Regions from separate parts of the Homo sapiens genome. Here region 1 is linked to region 2. Evidence: promoter capture Hi-C in 16 types of primary human blood cells and fetal thymus (Javierre and others, 2016). All regions are on one chromosome and are shown on one strand. Each heading gives the region's core, a stretch centred on a gene start or on the middle of the fragment in contact. The rest is flanking DNA. Distances are from core to core; before and after follow the strand shown. Region 1 overlaps C8orf34 (chromosome 8 open reading frame 34). Region 2 holds the start of PREX2 (phosphatidylinositol-3,4,5-trisphosphate dependent Rac exchange factor 2).

What was found. Contacts are between HindIII fragments. The CHiCAGO score rates a contact against its expected background, and 5 or more counts as called.
Region 1: a contact is called between a fragment that was not itself captured here and the fragment with the promoter of PREX2 in region 2, in 1 of 17 cell types (M2 macrophages). The highest score is 5.4, in M2 macrophages.

What each region holds. Positions count from the first base shown.
Region 1 is chr8:68,483,729-68,486,572 of GRCh38, reverse strand. The region is part of intron 4 of C8orf34 (chromosome 8 open reading frame 34); the gene reads right to left. Among named protein-coding and RNA genes, the nearest start is that of C8orf34-AS1, 150 kb to the right of the region's middle. The HindIII fragment of the contact is 1,052 bases long and covers 743-1,794 here.
Region 2 is chr8:67,950,681-67,953,422 of GRCh38, reverse strand. It overlaps PREX2 (phosphatidylinositol-3,4,5-trisphosphate dependent Rac exchange factor 2), which reads right to left and starts at 1,377. Exons shown (of 40, transcript NM_024870.4): 1 at 888-1,377. The coding sequence starts at 1,028. The HindIII fragment of the contact is 877 bases long and covers 501-1,377 here.

The DNA of each region.
Region 1 (2,844 bases), core at 19-2,518, 530 kb before region 2:
CCATTGTAGATCCCCTTGTAGATGACACTAGAAACACAGGTACATTTGGGGCTTATTCTTCAATATTTTATAAAATTCTTTTTTTGGTAGAAGTCATTGGTAACTAAGAATTTTTATGTGTCACATCAAAAGAGAGTCTAACTACCATTTCAGGGATTTGGGGTGACCAAAGCTTAACAATTATTCAAGGACTTGCTGTATTATGAAGGTAGTGCCTTCAAACAGTTAAAGGAGAAAAAGCTTTAAGGAGGGCTGGCATTGGAGCTGGGCTGTATCACTGCTGAGTGAACCGTGATGGAGAACTCAGATATGACAGCACCACAGTCAAGGGGAAGATGTGAGACTAAGAGATCTCAGAGTGCAATTATAAACATTTGTGAAGACCTAACATAAATCATACATTTGTGGAATTTTTGGGCTTAAAAAATATAGAGAATTACAAATGGTCATTTAGAATAACTCAGATGTTAAGAAAAGATAGGACATTTATGGGATACTAAATGGCTTATGTCACATTCTATAGATTTAAAATACATTATTACAATTTATAAAAATCCAAACATGTCTTTTAAATGCTTATATTTACATGTAATATAATTCTACAAAAAAAGTTCCTTTCCAATATGAATTCAAGATTAAGACTGAATATCTTAAATATAAAATTTTAAAGAGCTTAGTCTATTTTAAGAGAGCATAGATAATATGAAACAGAATTCTGTTTCTCACCCAAAGTCATAAAGCTTAGATATCTGAAATTAAATAATCCATAATTCAATTATTTGGGATTTTTTAAACTCTCTTAACCTCTTGATTTATTTTTATTTATTTATTTATTTATTTATTTATTTTTTATTTTTTTTTGAGACAGAGTCTTGCCTTGTCTCCTAGGCTGGAGTACAATGGCTGGATCTCGGCTCACTGCAACCCCCACCTCCTGGGTTCAAACGATTCTCCTGCCTCAGCCTCATGAGTAGCTGGGATTACAGGCACCCGCCACCATGCCCAGCTAATTTTTGTATTTTTAGTAGAGACGGGGTTTCACCATGTTGACCAGGCTGGTCTCAAACTCCTGACCTCGTGATCCGCCTGCCTGGGCCTCCCAAAGTGCTGGGATTATAGCGGTGAGTCACTGCACCTGGCCCGATCTCTTAATTTTTTTTTTAACTTCCTGCATCATGCTCTCGGGCTTACAAAACGAGTTTTCTCATTTAACTTTTAGAAAGCTACCAGTTGATCTTTAAGTTTCTTTTAGGCCTCATATTTATGAATCCATTATTCATAAAGATAGTGGCAATATATCACTGTTCCAGAAAGAAGCAAGAACTGGCAAGTAAGTAAAAAAGCCCTGTGAATAGTCAAAATGTGTGTCACACAGAACTGGCACATTACTCATGGGCTACCTCCTCTCAATTTTAGCAAACATATGAGCTGTTTTTCAGGGCTGGAAAATTTTAGCAGTTGAAAATGGAGATGAAGAGAAACATTGCTTTGAAGATGTATTTCAGTACTAAGAAGTAATGGACCCCAGAATACAACTCAAACTAGCTAAATGGAAAACTTGGTTTGGAGAAAGAATTATGCCTTTAATTATGCCAACTCTTTGGTCTGACCATATTTTGTTCAAATACTTATTATCATATTTTCTTAAAATTTACATATTTTGATGACTTTGCCTGAGAAATTATCCAAATAAATCTCCACTCTATTATCTGTAATTCTTTCAGCTTTCTATTATCAATGTCAAATTGCCTAGGGCATTTTTTTTAACTTCTTATTTCATTTTTAATCAAAGCTTATACAGATTAAAAGCAGATGAAAGAATTTTAATGAAACGCTTCACAGAGGCATGAAGCTCTAATGGGAACCATTTATACTGAGTGGCCAGGATATCTCTCCCAGTGTCTAGCAGAATATCCACAGCTATTCCCTGAGAAGAGATTAACAACTTTTAGGCATTTTATTAACTTTTAAAAGGTATCATATTTTAAATTGAGACTCTTTTTTAAGTTAATGAAGACTGGGGATCTTCAGAAAACAGAAAATATGCAAGAGAAAATGAAGTGGGTTGCGAAGATATGTTGGAAGAAAGAAAAGCCCAGGACTTGAGGGTAGGACTCTTAATGAGCACTGGAACACATGGTCCTTGTAAAAGTCAAACTAGAGCTTAAAGGAAATATCCTATCAGGGTGATATAGTTTGGATTTGTGTCCTGCCCAAATCTCATGTTGAATTGTAATCCCCAATGTTAGAGGTGAGGGCTGGTGGGAGGTGACTGGATCATGGGGGTGGATTTCTCATGAATGGTCCAGTACCATGTCTTTGTTGCCGCTCTCATGATAGTGAGTGAGTTCTCAAATGATGTGGTCCTTTGAAAATGTATAGAAAATGTGTAGCACCTTCCCCAACCTTGCTCTTGCTTTTGCTTTCGCCATTTGACTGCTAGTTCCTGCTTGGCCTTGTGCCATGATTGTAAGCCTCCAGAGGCCTCCCCAAAGGCAGATGCTGGTTTTATGCTTCCTGTACAGCCTGCAAAACCATAAGCCAATTAAACCCCCTTTCTTATAAATTACTCAGACTCAGGTATTTCTTCACAGCAATGCAAGAATGGCCTAATACACAAAGTAACCATTGCTTAGGGTAGCAATAATGTCTAGCTGTAGGAGTGAGCTGCCTGGAAGTGAAGGGAAAAATTAGTTCTTTCAGAAACTGAGCTTCTCTTCTGGATAAAGAAGCAGTGGCTCCCACAGGCATGTCAGAGGTAGACATGAATCAGGTAAAACTTTCTGATTCACTGTGGAGCAAACCTATCTAGATGGCCTCCATCTGTGTCATTTAATTTATAGG
Region 2 (2,742 bases), core at 128-2,627:
AATAGGAAAAATTCAACTTTTGAGTGTTATCTCAGCAGTTACTTTCACTCAGTTTTGCCCCTTCGGCCCTAAAATGAATGAGACGTTTTCAAAGCAGATGGCAGTGAGTCAAGCAGAAACGTGGAATATAAGTACATCCCCACTTCCACGAAGTCCCGAAGCTTGATTACAGCACTCTCATGGGCCATGTAAACAGGGGACCAGAAACTGAGCAGAAGACAGATTTAAGCCGGGGCGGGGGGCGGGGGGGAGGGAATTGTAAGACTAGGACAGGGTGAGCGCCACATGTGGCTTTAATATCCAACAGCTGCTAGAGATCATCACCCCGCTGCTCTCTCTGTACCCCTACACCAGAATCCTCTGTCTCAAAGACCATAACTAAAGCGGCCACTGCCATGTTATCTGAGTAACGAACTCAAGCTCGAGCACATTCAAGGATTTTTTTTAACTTAGTGTACCTGGATGTAGCCGACTGGACCTTTAATCACAAAACCAAAGCTTTAAAACAAAGTCTCCAGGAAAGAACAAGAAGGAAAATCAATTACACAGTGCACTTGAGCAGACTGGGGAGGCGGGTAAAAGAAAAGTGAGGGAAGATAGGGCAGCCGGGATTCCCTGGACTGGAGCTCTCTTCTCTAGAGCTAACTTTTCAGACCTGGAGGTCTCCAAGGCCCCCGCAACTCAGTGAGTCTCGGGGCACCAACAAATCCCCGCGGGGGTCACCGCGCCCGCGAACGCAGAGTCCACACGTGGATTCCCGCGCCTGTGATGCCCCGACCCGTCCCGGGTCCCCGCACAGACAATGCCGCGCGTCCTTCCCGCAGCCACTCCGGGACCCGCGCCCCGCGCCGCCCGGACGTCCCCCTGCGTCTGCCGGGGACACTCACCGACACCAGGAACTCCAGCGTGCCCACATAGTCCCGCTCGGTCTTCTGGAGCTCGCTGAGCACGCACACGCGCAGGCGAAGCTGCTTCTCCAGGTCCTTGGCGCTCTCGGCGCGGCTGTCTCCGCGGCTGTCCTCGCTCATGGTCGGCGGCGGTGCGCAGCGCGGCGCTGCCCGCCGTGCTGAGCGCTGACCCGCGCGCCCGCTGCTGCCCGGCCCCCGGCGGCGAGAATGGAAAGTTGCCGCCTCCGCCAACTCCGAGGAGAGACAGAAGACTTTACATGCTGGGGAGAGGCTGGGCGCAGGGAGAGGAGGGGATCGGGCTGAAATCCCGGCGCGGGGGGCGCGGGGCTCTGCAGAGGAAACTCCTGGGAGTGGGGGCTCCGGCCAGGCCCTGCGCGCCCGGCCCCGCTGCTCTGGCCTCACACGGCCGGGGCTGGAGGGGAAGCGGCTTCGGCAGCCACAGCAGTGACTTGGACATTAATCAAAAGCTTTGTATCCATGTGACTCCGACCCTTTACCCTTCGCCAAATCTCAGGAAAAAGGAAACACAACCCTGGGGAAGTACTGCGTACTGGCTAATCACACACACGCGCGCGCGCGCACACACACACACACACGCACACACACACACACACACACACACAGCAGCACTTGATATGGAACTCACAGGAGGTTCCCAATCCCAGGGACACACACTCCAAGGCGCAGCTCGAGGGTTACTCCTAAGCCTCCGCTATTGTTTAACTTTAATGTGTTTCGTACAAATCCTGAAAGCAAAGAAACAAGTCCCCACGGTTACATAACTGGATGGGAACAAAAACAACCACGGTATTGACCCTCCCTCTTTGAAAAGAAACACATTGATTTTTTGTTTCATTCAGGCACAAAACAGGTTTGCTTTTAAAACCCTCCAACTGAGAATAGTTCACAGGGCAGACACCCTCCAGTCTGAGCTTGGAAAGTCAATTAGCATAATAAATGAAGACACTATGGGAAAATGACAGCCTCTGCCCATGCAATAAACCCCAGATAAAATAAGCATCACCCTTGTACTGTGCTGTTTTCCATGTCTACAACTTTTTTCAACATCAAGATAGTATGTAAATCCATTGAGAGGCGAGGGTATTTGTGCCAGTTTTGTTTCTAAGAGCTGCTGTGATTTAAGACGGTGTCACTAATTGAAAAGATAAAGCTGTTGTTGAATGCTCATCAGAAGATAGAAAGCTAGATAGATAACGGAAATAATCTTAGATTTTTGAAGATAGACACACAGAACATTCTTGATTTTAAAGTTAAAGTTTATTGCCTTTTCTCACTTGGAAACTAAGCCTTAAATATTTCCAATACATTTAACAAACAAAACAATTTATATATTTTTTTGAATTGGTATTATACACATATATTTTCCACAGATCAACTTCAGTCTAAAACTAATGGCATTTAAATAAACTGAAGAGTGAATAGAGTTGTTGCAAGAAAGTGGTATGTTAATTTGTTGCAGTCACTGAAAGCATTAGCAAAACTCTAAAACATAAAGATGCTTTTCACTATATTTACATTAAAATAATTACCTATTGGTTTTCCAGATGATGTCTTTCCAGAGCATAGTGTGACCATTCCCCTCTGTAACCACACAAAGAAGGATTGTACTTTCTTTGTATATTAAAGATAAAATTTTCGAATGATGTACACAAAGCTGATGGGCAAGATGTGATTTTCCTCTTTCTTTTACAAATGACTATTTAGAGGTAGCCAAGAGCAAAGGGCAAACAACATAGATGGCTTCACACCCTGTGGCAGAAGAACAAAGGGCAAAGCATATTAAAGAGCAGACCTCACAGCACCTAGTAAACAA